3 separate regions of the Homo sapiens genome follow, and all the other regions are linked to region 1. The links are contacts of gene promoters, found by promoter capture Hi-C in blood cells and fetal thymus (Javierre and others, 2016). All regions are on one chromosome and are shown on one strand. The core of a region is centred on a gene start or on the middle of the fragment in contact, and the rest is flanking DNA. Distances in the headings are between cores, read along the strand shown. Region 1 holds the start of PTDSS1 (phosphatidylserine synthase 1). Region 2 overlaps TMEM67 (transmembrane protein 67). Region 3 overlaps PDP1 (pyruvate dehydrogenase phosphatase catalytic subunit 1).

Evidence for each region. The method cuts DNA at HindIII sites, captures the fragments that hold promoters and counts their contacts. A CHiCAGO score of 5 or more calls a contact.
Region 2: a fragment that was not itself captured here is called in contact with the fragment with the promoter of PTDSS1 in region 1 in 1 of 17 cell types (activated CD4 T cells); the score reaches 6.3 in activated CD4 T cells.
Region 3: a contact is called between a fragment that was not itself captured here and the fragment with the promoter of PTDSS1 in region 1, in 2 of 17 cell types (activated CD4 T cells and fetal thymus). The highest score is 7.4, in activated CD4 T cells.

Annotation. Positions count from the first base shown.
Region 1 is chr8:96,259,566-96,263,740 of GRCh38, forward strand. PTDSS1 (phosphatidylserine synthase 1) reads left to right here and starts at 2,337. Exons shown (of 13, transcript NM_014754.3): 1 at 2,337-2,654. The coding sequence starts at 2,476. It overlaps MTERF3 (mitochondrial transcription termination factor 3), which reads right to left and starts at 2,045. Exons shown (of 8, transcript NM_015942.5): 1 at 1,936-2,045. RefSeq lists enhancers at 798-1,491, 1,643-1,702, 2,185-2,877, 3,023-3,262 and silencers at 1,866-2,190, 1,943-2,092, 2,273-2,642, 2,693-2,872. The HindIII fragment of the contact is 8,922 bases long and covers 1-4,175 here.
Region 2 is chr8:93,769,785-93,773,959 of GRCh38, forward strand. It overlaps TMEM67 (transmembrane protein 67), which reads left to right. Exons shown (of 28, transcript NM_153704.6): 7 at 2,805-2,867. Among named protein-coding and RNA genes, the nearest start is that of TMEM67, 17 kb to the left of the region's middle. The HindIII fragment of the contact is 731 bases long and covers 1,485-2,215 here.
Region 3 is chr8:93,917,604-93,921,778 of GRCh38, forward strand. The region is part of intron 1 of PDP1 (pyruvate dehydrogenase phosphatase catalytic subunit 1); the gene reads left to right. Among named protein-coding and RNA genes, the nearest start is that of PDP1, 2.8 kb to the left of the region's middle. RefSeq lists a silencer at 1-260. The HindIII fragment of the contact is 2,309 bases long and covers 1,132-3,440 here.

The DNA.
Region 1 (4,175 bases), core at 1,087-3,586:
AATTAGAAAGGTAAATTTGATGCATATAATCTTACGTTAAATAACATTATCCATATAAAACACAGGATGGAGTCAGGATATAAGAAATGCTCAATAAATGTTAGCCATTATTATTGGTTACACAACCAAATACAAAAATTCTGCTGAATTAATTGCTGCCTACAACTTTATACTTTGTTTTTCTGCATACTGGAATTCAGCTTGTTTTATGCTCTAAATTAGACCAAATACTTGAGGGTCTAATCTTTTCTTGGAGATCTGTAGTTTTGGGAAGTTTGCTGAAAGAGATTTTACAAAAGTGAAAGTTTCCTTTCATTCTGCAATTATTTATTATTATTATTATTATTATTTTTTTTGAGACGGAGTTTCGCCCTTGTTGCCCAGGCTGGAGTACAACGGCACCATCTTGGCTCACTGCAACCTCTGCCTCCCAGGTTCAAGTGATTCTCCTGCCTCAGCCTCCCGAGTAGCTGGGATTACCCACGCCCGCTACTATGCCCGGCTAATTTTTTGTGTTTTTAGTAGAGACGGGGTTTCACCATCTTGGCCAGGCTGGCCTCGAACTCCTTACCTCAGGTGATCCACCCAGCTTCCCAAAGTGCTGGGATTACAGGCGTGAGCCACTGCGCTCGGCCCATTCTGCGATGATTTTAGAAAAGAAGTAAGTATTCACAATACCCTGCTGGGATAGGTGGTTTCTGTTAGATTTTGGTGGGAAATGGGACTCCAAATGTGCCAAGTTTTCCCTCAAACCTACAACATTCATTCTCTGCACGGTAGTCATAAGGGCACTAAATTGAAAGTCAGAAGACCTCGGTTGTGCTACCTTGACAAGGCTGTTTCTGGCAGCAGTCTAACAAAAGCAGCAGTCTAGCCCATGATGTGGGGGGTGGGGGTGGGGTCAATAACTATTCTTCAAATAATGCTTTTTTAAAAGGCTAGGGGTACAATAAGATGATTCTTAAGGCCCCTATCAGCTCTAACATTTTTTGACGTCTAAGCACTTCATCCTACTTCAAACTCCTGAAATCCCAAATTCATCCTGAAGCCTTTCCACACTCAATACCACTTAAACATCAGGAAGACTCACTTTCAAATTTCACCCCGTCATTAAAAGATCTTTGTGCATACAACTAATGTTTATCCTTGCATTTTTATTTACAAGTGCACTATCTTCTCCACATCCTTTCATTGCTGCCTACACATCTTAACAATTGATTAACTGTTCATGCACGAGAGCAGAGCTGGGTCTCATCCCTGGATCCATCCTTCCGGGGACTATTCTCCACTTTCCCAGAGCCTTGTACTGCTCTAATGTTTGCGGAATGGAAATAAATCAATGGCAAGTACAGTTAACTCACTTGCTTACACAGTATGCAAAAGCGGGTAGGGGATGTGCAGATGTGTATAAAAGCCCTGTAAGGTGGTAACCTGAAGTCTTCTAACAAGGTCCTTTCATCAGGAAAATTACAGAAAACCCTTAAAGAAACTGAAGTCTCTTAACAATTCATATATACTGTTCTCAATGAGTGCCTAGTGCTTCGCTAGAAAAAGGCACTGAAATAGAGTTCAAGATTTCTACCTACGAAATGCTATAAATGAAATCAGGAGAGAAAGGGAGGTTATGGGGGCAGCTTCCTAATAAAGGGTCTCTCAATACTTCCCAGGCCATTTTAGCCCACTTCAGTTCCCCAAACTTGCGCAGGAAGGCAGAGCCCCCTCCTGAGGCTTCTCACACTGCGCTAATTAGCCAGCATGGTTGAGTTTTCACTACATCAGCCAGGGAAAAACACAAAACAAAACCAATCACCCTCTACTGGGCCGCGAAAACCTAAAGGCCCTTGAGGCCCTGGGGCGCGGTCTGGACGCGGGTGCGCCGGAACCTGAACCCTCGCCAGGAGCGCGATCCTCGTGCTGGGGCAGCTCCTGCTTTACCTGTGGCGAGGCCTGCTTCCCGTAGCGGGTGACCCCGGGACCGACCAACTCGCTGGGCCGCACGTCCCGTCCCGCCGCGCCGCACGCCGGCTCCTCAGCCCGCCCTACACAGCGCAGCCGCGCTCCCGGGCCCACGTGGGCCGCGCCCGGAGTGGGCGAGACCATGTGCCGGGTTACGCGGGGAGACAGCGGGCTACGTGCTCTGAAAAGAGCCAGCCAGGGGCCCCGGCTACCCTTCTCCGGCTCGCTATTCCTCTGAAGTCCTGTGGACTTGGAGTCTGAAAATTCCTCGAGTGGTAGAGATGCCTCAGCTAGGATGACAGCGTGGGGACGGCCGGCGGCGTCCCCTGCCCCAGGCCGCGGTGGCGGCGCCGCGACCCCGCCCTCTCGCGCCTGTCCTTCCCTCTGCTCCCAGCCTTTGCTGGGCGCCAGACCCGGCTTTGCCGTCCGGCTATTAGCCTACTGTGGCTAGTCACCCCCGGGGTCCCGGCCTTCTCGGGCTGGGGCCGCCGCCACCGCGGCAGGACGGGGAGGCGGGCCATGGCGTCCTGCGTGGGGAGCCGGACCCTAAGCAAGGATGATGTGAACTACAAAATGCATTTCCGGATGATCAACGAGCAGCAAGTGGAGGACATCACCATTGACTTCTTCTACCGGCCGCATACCATCACCCTGCTCAGCTTCACCATCGTCAGCCTCATGTACTTCGCCTTTACCAGGTGGGGCGGCCCAGCCGAGCGGGGGGCGCGTCCAAGGGCTAGGGAAGAGGCGGGAGGGAGGGTGGCGGGGAGGGGGGCCCGGCATGGCTCTGGGTGAGGAAGTGGGCTGGCTGCTCCACGCACACGCACTGGCAGCCCGCCGCCCACGCGGCCCCTCCGCCCGCCCGGTGTCTCACAGTACGCTAGCCTGCTCCCCTACCCCTCAGTGCCCCTTCTCCATACAGCGCCTCCGGTTACACGGGGAACGCACGCGAGTCACCTAGCACGATCGCCCCCTCACCCACCGCACTCAGCATCGCTCCACACAACATCACGACGCGGGCCCCTCCTCTGCACTGCTCCAGCCTTCGTCCCTACCCAGCACACCGCATGAATCATGTCGTATGCACCACTTTCAGCACACACCGCTACACATACAAAGCACCCCAATCCACAGCGCCTGCAGGCACCATACACAGGCCCAGGACACAACCTAGATCCCTTCCTGTGGAACTCCGGTATTCGGCACTATCCGTAACGCACAAAAAATGCACATGTGTGCTGCATACACGGTCTTTCCTGTGCAGCACTTCCCGTATGCATTGCACACAAGTCATCCAGCATAACACTTCCCCCAGCCTCAAACACTACCATCTGTACCACGGCACAAACTGCCACTCTAAACACACACCTCACAGCGGACCTTTCCTTTCCAGCACAGCCCAATACCCATCATCTGTGTACATGGCTGCACAGACACCAGCCCGCCACACATCACGCGGTGCATACCCTGCTCACTCATTACCTAACATACGTGCTGAAATGTGATCTTGTCCAGCAATTTTAATGGTGCCTGGGGTATAGTAACTGCTGTGTGTTAAATGAAACACATAAACCTCACACAGCATAACACAACTCTCTTATTCCCTGGAAAACATACACACACATTCTAATATATACCGGTTCATAGGAGCTGCCCAGCCCAAATCTTGAACACACCTCATGTTAACTCTGGCACTGCGCCTGTGGCTCCTCATTCCTAACCTAGAGAACTAATTCATCCTTGGTTCATAAGGAGGTACACACCGTGGTTCCTACTTAGAATGATTTATACTTTCTGAATGAACCTCTTTAAAGAAAGGGAAGTCACACCTCTCTCACCATTATGGCTTAAAAGGCCAACTTAGAGTAGAGTAGTTTTTGAGCCACACTTTTGGTTTCAAAACTGGCTGTGTGTCCTTAATTAAGTTGCATAACCTTGCTCTGAGCCTCAGGGGCCACACTCGTAAAATGGGGATGAAATATCTACTTATATAGGGTTATGAAAATTAAATGAATGTGTGTGAATGCATTTAGCAGAGTCCCTGGAGCACAATGTACAATTCATGTCAGTTACTTCTCTCCCAGTATTTTTATCCAACAATCAAGGTTCTCTGTCAGGGTCAGCAGAACATGTGTAGGGATATATATATTGGGTAGTCACAAGGATTGAGAGAACTTCTAGTATTTGGGAGGGGGAGCAGTTAACGGATACTAAATGTA
Region 2 (4,175 bases), core at 600-3,099, 2.5 Mb before region 1:
TTTATTAGTTTATGTTGAGACTGTAATTGCCAATTAGACTGAAATATTTGTATTGACTCCATAACATACATTCTTCCTAATTGGAAAAGTCTACTTTGAACGTTAAGGTTGGAAGTTTTCTTAGAGAACAAAATTGGTACATAATTTTGTTTGTATAATTTTATAACAAGGCATCCAATCCTACTCATCCTACTCTTGGAATATACTTGCCAATCAGAAAAAAATTTTCACATACATGAGTTAGTGTCTCCCCATTCCCTTTCCCTCAAATACATTAATAGTGAAATAGCTTCATGGTTTTTGGTTTTCCCAACTTTTATTTTGAAAAATTTCAAAATTGCAGAAAAGCTGAAAGAATTAGACAATGACTATGCCTATGTCTTTCACCTGGTTTAAAGAATTATTAATGTTTTGCCACATTTGCTTTATCTCTCTGTATATATGTAAATATATACGCAAACACAATGTTTTTTTCCCCCTGAGCCATTTGAAAATAAGTTGTAGACATAATGACATTGCACTCCAAATACTTTAGGGTGGATCTCCAAAGAATAAGGCATTTTCCTAGAATCACACCCAAGGAATTTAAAATTAACATAATAGAATTAACTGATATCCATTCATACCCAAATTTTCCCAGTTGTTCAAAAATGTTCTTTATTCTCCCTTCCTTTTTTGGGGGAAGGGATACCTAGGATCCAATCAAGGATCTCACACTGCAGTTAGTCTTTCTAGTGTCCTTTAATCTAGAACATATCCCTGCTTCACTTTGCTTTTGTGGTTTTTCCCCTCTGTATTTTTCTGATTGTTTTCTCATGATTAGACTCAGTGAAACATATTTTCGCAAGATATTATATAGATGTTGTATACAGCTCATTGCATCACAACAAGAGGTATGTAATGTCTGTCAGGTTGTCCAGTTATTGGTGATAGTAAATTTGATTGCTAGGCTGGACGCGGTGGCTCACTCCTTTAATCCCAGCACTTTGGGAGGCTGAGGCATGTAGATCACCTGAGGTCAGAAGTTCAAGACCAGCCTGGCCAACATGGTGAAACCCCATCTCTACTGAAAATACAAAAATTAGCTGGGCGTGGCGGCAGGCTCCTGTAACCCCAGCTACTCAGGAGGCTGAGGCAGGAGAATCGCTTGAACCCAGGAGACAGAGGTTGCAGTGAGCCAAGATCGCGCCATTGCACTCCATCCTGGGCAACAAGCGAAATTCCGTCTCAAAAAAAAAAAAAAATATTGATTTCTTGGTCATAGTTGTGTCTGCCACTTCTCTCCATTGTAAAGGTACTGTGATTAATACGTTAGTCTGAGACTATGTAAATATCCATTTTAGCAATTAATGAATCTTGCCTGTATCAGTTACTAAACTGGTCACTTCTAATAACAATTCTATTATTCCCTCTAGATTTATTAGCTAGCAATTTTCTGTAGAAGCACTTTACTTTTTCTCTGTGCTTTTTTTTTTTTAAAAAAAAGCTTTATTATGAACTGTAGAATCTTTGTTTACTCATTGTGTTATAATCTGTTAACTTTTTTTATTCTTCTTTTCGAAGTTCAAGTTGTACCAAATTTGAACTTCCTTTCAGCATAGCTCCTGTGTTGTTTTGACGTGACTTTAGACTTTAGGGATTTCTTTGGTTTCTCTATACCATGTTCCAGACTCACCTTGTATAATTATATTTTTAATAGTTCCATAATATTCTGGCTTATGCACTAAAATTTGTATAATGGTATCTCCAGAGAATATTTAGGTTTTCAGTTATTAACTATATTGCTGTCAACCATAAATATGTTTTCCCATTTAGAGGGATTATTGCTTTAAGATAAATTTCCTAAGTGTTCCTAAATTTCTGGGTTAGAGTATATGGATATTGCTTTATAAAAGTATCATGTAACTTTCACACTATCAGTGGCATTGTATGTGGCTCCATTTTACATGCATTTGTCAGTACTGTTGTGTTGCATTTCATTTTTTACCAGTTTGTGTGCATGTGTTCCTCAGCCTTCTATGCATATTTTTTCTTACAAAATAATTTTTGCTTATTAAATATACACAAATAGTACCTCATAGTTTTATTATAGATTTCTCTGATCACTGTGGTGCCATGTTCATATAATTTAGTTATATCACTTACGTGTGTGCCCAGACGATTTTCTCTGAATGGTGCTTCTTAGTTTCTCATATTTTAGCAAGATGTACAGATAAGCTTTAAAGTAATGTTTTTTAGCCAGAGGTTTGTTATCTGTAGCCTTCAAAACCGATGTAATTGCCTTGGTCTCATCTGGAGATACTGATTCGTTTTTGTTTGGGATGAAGCCAGGCATTTTTTGTTTTTAGAAAGTTCTGCAGGTGATTGTGATGTCCACCATTGTTTGAGAACCACCACTTTGGAGATTTGAAATTATTTCCCCCCAATTTTTTTTATTGCTTGCCAATTTGGTACAGTATTTATAATAATTATAAACCAGTAAATATTAACCACTCAATACTAAGTCAGGATCTGTTATTTTTTCTTTTGTTTGCCACTTTATTTTTTATGTTAGTGAAATAGGCATGTAGTATTTTTTGATTACAGACACATTTTGTCTCGTTATATCTTTTGCCTAAGTGTGATTATTTTGTAATGCGGTCCTATTTATAATAACTGACATTGGTTAAAATCAATTCTTGTATTCCTATTAGTAACTGTTTTTCTACTAACATTGTGAAAGTAATGTGAGACATTTCCCATTCAACAATATGCATATTGGAGTCATTTGAACTTAAAAATAAAATGTATCTTTTTGTTTACAGGGCATGTCTTTAACTTCAGAATGGTTTGCAAAGTATTTGCAATCATCAGCAGCTGCATGTTGGGTAAGTTTGAATTTTTTAAATAAATTTCATTTTATTTTGAAGAATTATACCATTTATTTACCCAGATAATAAAAGTTTTATTTCTAAGTAGCTATAGCTTCTTGGTCATAATCTTATAAGAAGAATAAACTCTTTCTTGTGGGCTGAAAGAGAATACATGAAGAAGATGTTATTTAGTATACACAAATTGAATGTCTCCAAGCTTTTTTAGCTGAAACGGAGTGTTAGGGGAAACTGACTGTCACTTAGTAAATGTTTATTGATGACCTACTGTGTGCCGGGCCCAATTCTTAAATCAGGTTAGATATTTCAGAAAAAGAAAAAAACAGTCCTTCATGGAGTTACAGCCTAAGTAAATGTCAGGTTGTGCTAAGTGCTATGAAGGCAAATAGTTAAGAGTAAAGTACATAGATGGGGTGGGGGGTGCTATTTTATATAGTGATCAGGACAGACATCTCTGAGAGGGTTATAGTTGAGCAAAGAACTGAAAAAAGTGAGAGTGAGCCATGTAAACATCAAGGAGAAGAGTGTTCTAAGCAGAAACCATAGCAGGAGCAAAGATCTCAAAGCAGTTTACTGGCTTATTCATGCTTAAGAGAGAAGGAGGAGGCTGGAGTGGCTGGAGCAGAGTGAGCAGGGAAAGTGGAGTGGAGATGAGGTCAGGGATGTAGGGAGTGGCTATGGCAAGGCCCTGGAGCTTATTTTAAGGGAGATAGGAGGATTTCATGCAAAGGAAGACATGATAGAACTTCAGTTCTTGAAAGGATCATTGTAGCATGGAGAATAGAATTTGTTGGGGTAAGGGACCATTTAGGAGAGTATTACAGTAATCTGAGTGAGAGATAGTGGACCATTGCACAAGGGTGGTCCTGCAGAAATGAGAGAAGCATTTACCTTCAGCTATGCTTTGAAGATTTAGCTGACAGAATTTACTCATGAGCTGGATAAGGGGCAAGAGAGAAAAAAAGTTCAAAGTTTTTCACATGAATAACTGTAAAAATGGAATTGCCTTTTCCTAATAGGGAAAACTGAGAAAGATGGTTGACAGGCAAACTCAACAAATGATCTCATTTTGTTGTTTATAAAGCAGATTACTTAAACAAAATGGATTAGATTTTATGTGTAAGATCTAACATACAAATTATTGTTCTTTCAAAAATAGTCTAGTAGGTTTTTTAATGTCATGCTATGAGTTTTTCCTTAGTTCTTCTTTCAGTTTCTTGTCTTTATATTTTAACCTAAAATTTACAATTAAAATGTTTGTGTTATTTCTCTTCCCAAGTGGAAAGTTTATTTTCTCCTTAAGCT
Region 3 (4,175 bases), core at 1,036-3,535, 2.3 Mb before region 1:
GGCGCACCCCTGCTCGCGCCTGGGCCCCGCTGCCTTGGGCTGTGGCTTTGCCTCCCCGGCGGGGTGGGTTGGTTTGGTTGGCTTCCTTGTTCTCTCCACCCCTTTATCCCTCCTCCATCCTCTTCCCCCCCACCTCCCAGCCCATTCACCGGGCTGGAGCGAGACCTCGCCCCTCCTCCGCTCCCGCCTCCCCGCCGCCGCCTCCTCTAATGAGCATCTCTGCCTTGCTTTCAATGGGCCGGTGCTGCTGTCGCTGCTGCTGCCCGCGCGGGTTGTGGATGTTGTCGGCTCCGTGTTGTGATGACAGGAGAATGTGTGTGTGTCCCGGGCCCAGACGAATTGGTAGGTATTCACTTAACTACCTGCGTTGGGTACCCAGGAAGGATGGTGACAGATTTTTGTGTATGGATGGTTTTAGATGAATCAGCGTGGTATTAAGGGATGAGATAGATTGGAAAAAGGGACAAACGCGTCTTGGATTGAGATAGCTTTGATGTCTTTGTGAGTGCAGTTTTTCAGGTAGCGACAAAGGAAACTAATCAAAAAAATACTGGCGTGTGGTGCTTCGTATCTTTCTTCATTTATGTAAAAAGATAGCAGGAGCTGTGAAATGGCTAGGCATTTCCAGAAAAATGTTGAAAAATCGCGGATGGTCTTTATGTAGAGTGTTTAATGCAATCGGATTACATAAACTGGGGTTCCGACACATTAAATGATTAGCATAGCTTTTCTTTTTCATTTACATCAGAAGCTTTGCAAAGCTAAAGGGCTCTGGAGTCGGTGCCTTAATAGCATTTGCTAATTAATTTGGTCCGTGGGTCTATTGATGGAGTGGAAAAAATGTCTTGGCACAGGCTCTGCTAAGCACATCAGTAAGAATGGACGGCTCTCTTTCCTGTTTCTGGTTGCAGTGCATCTTTCTTTATTAGTCATTGGCAAAATCAGCCCAATCTGCCTGGGATGAAGATGCTACATACAACGTGGCTGAGTCTAGATCATGGAATAGGAAATTTTCCGTGAAAATTGTGATCAAGAATAACTTGCAAATTTGACACTGCTCTGTTTTACCAACAGTTGTACCTGGATGCTGTTCTTATTGCCTGATCAAGAGCCTTCTACACTAATTTAACAAGCTTGTCAGCAAAAGTTATGATGTAGAGTGTTTTCTTGTTGTTGAATCAGTGGATAATCTGAAGGATATTAAGAGTTTTTCATTGCTTACTTATTTATGAAAGCATTTGAAAGTACTTTGACTCCCAAGGGTATCTGATCTGATGGAGAGAATGTATCACTTGTACCGATGCGGATAGAACGCTCATTAATTACAGCACAGTTTTCATAAATTCCAACTTCCCTAGGAATTTTGTCTTTTGAAGGCATGTTGGAAGTTGGGGCATTAGGATATAATCTCAGTCCATGTACTAAGCCTCTGCATAACTGAAAGATAGAGTCAATAAAATTCACTCTCTCATTTTTTGTTTTTAATCTCAAGAATTTTTGCCTTGAAGGAAAAATGTAGTGGAGAATTTGATGTTTGAACGTAAGTATTGTTAAAAGCACCTGCTGTGTCAATCATTGCTTTTTGTCACTAGATTTCATTCATTTTGCAGTCAATTACAAAAGTAGAAAAGATGTCATACCAAGCCGGGTGCAGTGGCTCATGCCTGTAATCCCAGCACTTTGGGAGGCTGAGGCGGGTGGATGGCCTGAGGTCAGGAGTTCGAGACCAACCTGACCAACATGGTGAAACCCCATCTCTACTGAAAATACAGAATTAGCCGGGCAGGAGAATCGCTTGAACCAGGGAGGCGGAGGTTGCGATGAGCTGAGATCACGCCATTGCACTTCAGCCTGGGCAACAAGAGCAAAATTCCTCCCCCCGCTGCCCTCCCTCCCCCCCCCCGGCAAAAAAATGTCGAAGCAAAGGAATTTAAGGAAAGTGCAGGTTTCCAGGACTTGTTATTCCTTAATTAAACAATCAAACCCTGTTATGCATCTATCAACCCTCCCTCCCCCCCACACAAATAGTATTTTGAGTCAGTTTACGTTCCATACAGGCACATTTTCATTGTTTTTTTCTGTAAGATTCTTAAGTTTTAAAGAAAGAGCAAATGCAGTCATAAAATTATGAAGAAAAATTCATTAAGATTACATTAGTTTACATTTTTAATGATAGAAAACCTTTATTCAAAGCACAAAATGAGTTGATATGCTTTCTGCACGCAAACCTAAAAAGAGATATGGTTTAAGTATGGAAGCCACTGTCATGTGGCCCAACATTTGAGCACATCTTCTGGCTCAGTCATGTACACTTAACCTCTGGATGACTTTCAGGTATTCAGTTTGAATTTCTTTTATTTAAATGGTTACTCCTGATGGATTCCCGTTTTTCTGGAATTTCTGTTTTTCATTAGTGCATTTCAGAATGCTTTTTTAGTTACGGATTCTTATTTCCAAAATTTTAGCCATTACTTTCTATTGCCTGATCTTGTCTTCATTTTCGTAAACAAATCCCTTCTTAGATAGTGCAGTTAAAATGATGGTACTTTCTACTACTTGCAGAAGAGAATCTGTGTGGCTGGCTTATGCAGTGCTTATTACAGAAACAAACAAGAATCAGTGATTATTCAGTGTTTAGTTTTCTTTGCTTCCCTCTACCCCAATTTATTACTTTTTCTCAAATTATTCTTCAAAAAAGGTACATGAAAATAATATATGGCTGACACATGCTATGATATTTGTTTAGCCGTGGGAAGGAATAGTTGCTATTAACTCAGATGGTTTTATTTTCTGTGTTCCTTTTTGTTTATTGCATTTGTTTATTTAAAGTATTTCCAAAGTGTTTCTTTATAGTACAAATGACTATTTTGAAGCAGTATCTCAAGAATTCAGGGAAAATATATGTTATTGAGGAAGAAGAGGGATTTTTTTTCTTGCCCAAATTATCTAGATTAATGATATATTCATTAAATTTCCCAAATAAATGCCCAGAAATTATTTTCAGCGCACATAGTGAGTGATAGGATTTTTTTTAAGTTTGTAATTATATTGCTGTACCTTTTCAATCCAAACCTTAGACTATTATTTGACTATACTGCTTCCCTGGAGCAAGTAAATACCTTTTTTTTTTTTTTTTAATGTGAGAGAAAACATTTTTGGTCTTTTAAAATTTATTTTTAATTTACAATTGACACATAATATTATATATTTATGGGGTACAATGTGATGTTTCAGTGCATGTATATATTGGTAGACATTGTGTAATGATCAAATCAGAGTGATTACCATATCCAAGAAAACATTTTTCTAGGGGTTAATTCTACTTTGGATCCATAGTAGATGAAAATACTTCTATGGGTTTTCCTTATAGCTGCTAAGCAGGGAACATTGTTAGTAGGTAAATTAAGTTCTAGGACTGAAACCATTTATGTTACTAACAAAGCTTTAGAGCTACTGCAATACTTAAACTTTTTTTTTTTTTTTAATCATGAAGGGCACGGTAGAATTCAACAGTGAATAAATGAAACCTGAATTTTATTTAAAAACCTCACTTCCATAAGCATAAAGGCATGAATCCTAGAAGAGCCTTAGATAGCATCTGCTCTGTTGATGTTCCTTTACAGGTTAGAAGAGTGAGACTCAAAGATGTGAGCTGACTTTTCCAAGATTATTTGGGAGTTGGTGGCAGACCTATGCCCGTTAGCCTGGCAAATTGCCACAGTGGACTAGAGAAGCAAGTTTTGCAAGACCATCTACTGGGGTACAGGAGAGAAATACTGGAATTTCTTTTTTTATTTAATTATGTAGAAATTTTTCTATATATGTTACAATGCATATTACTGTAGTCATATATGTATATGATGTACACGTAATTCATAAATACACATATGTTTGGCTGCCTCTTAACATTTTTGGTCATAGCCATGTGTAATCATGCCAAAAATTGACCACAGGTCTATGTAAAGGGTCTTCATAAATGGAAGAAGTCCCTGTGTAAAATGGGAGATTTCAAGGCATTTTTTAAGAATAGGGAGGGAGAAGGATGATTGGTCAGGTAGACGGCTACTGCATAATGTTATATAACCTTCATCTCCTCAGCTTTCCCCAGCCAAATCTGTTGTACATTCTGCACAGTTTGTACTGCACAAAGGACGACAAAGAAAAGAGAAAATTGA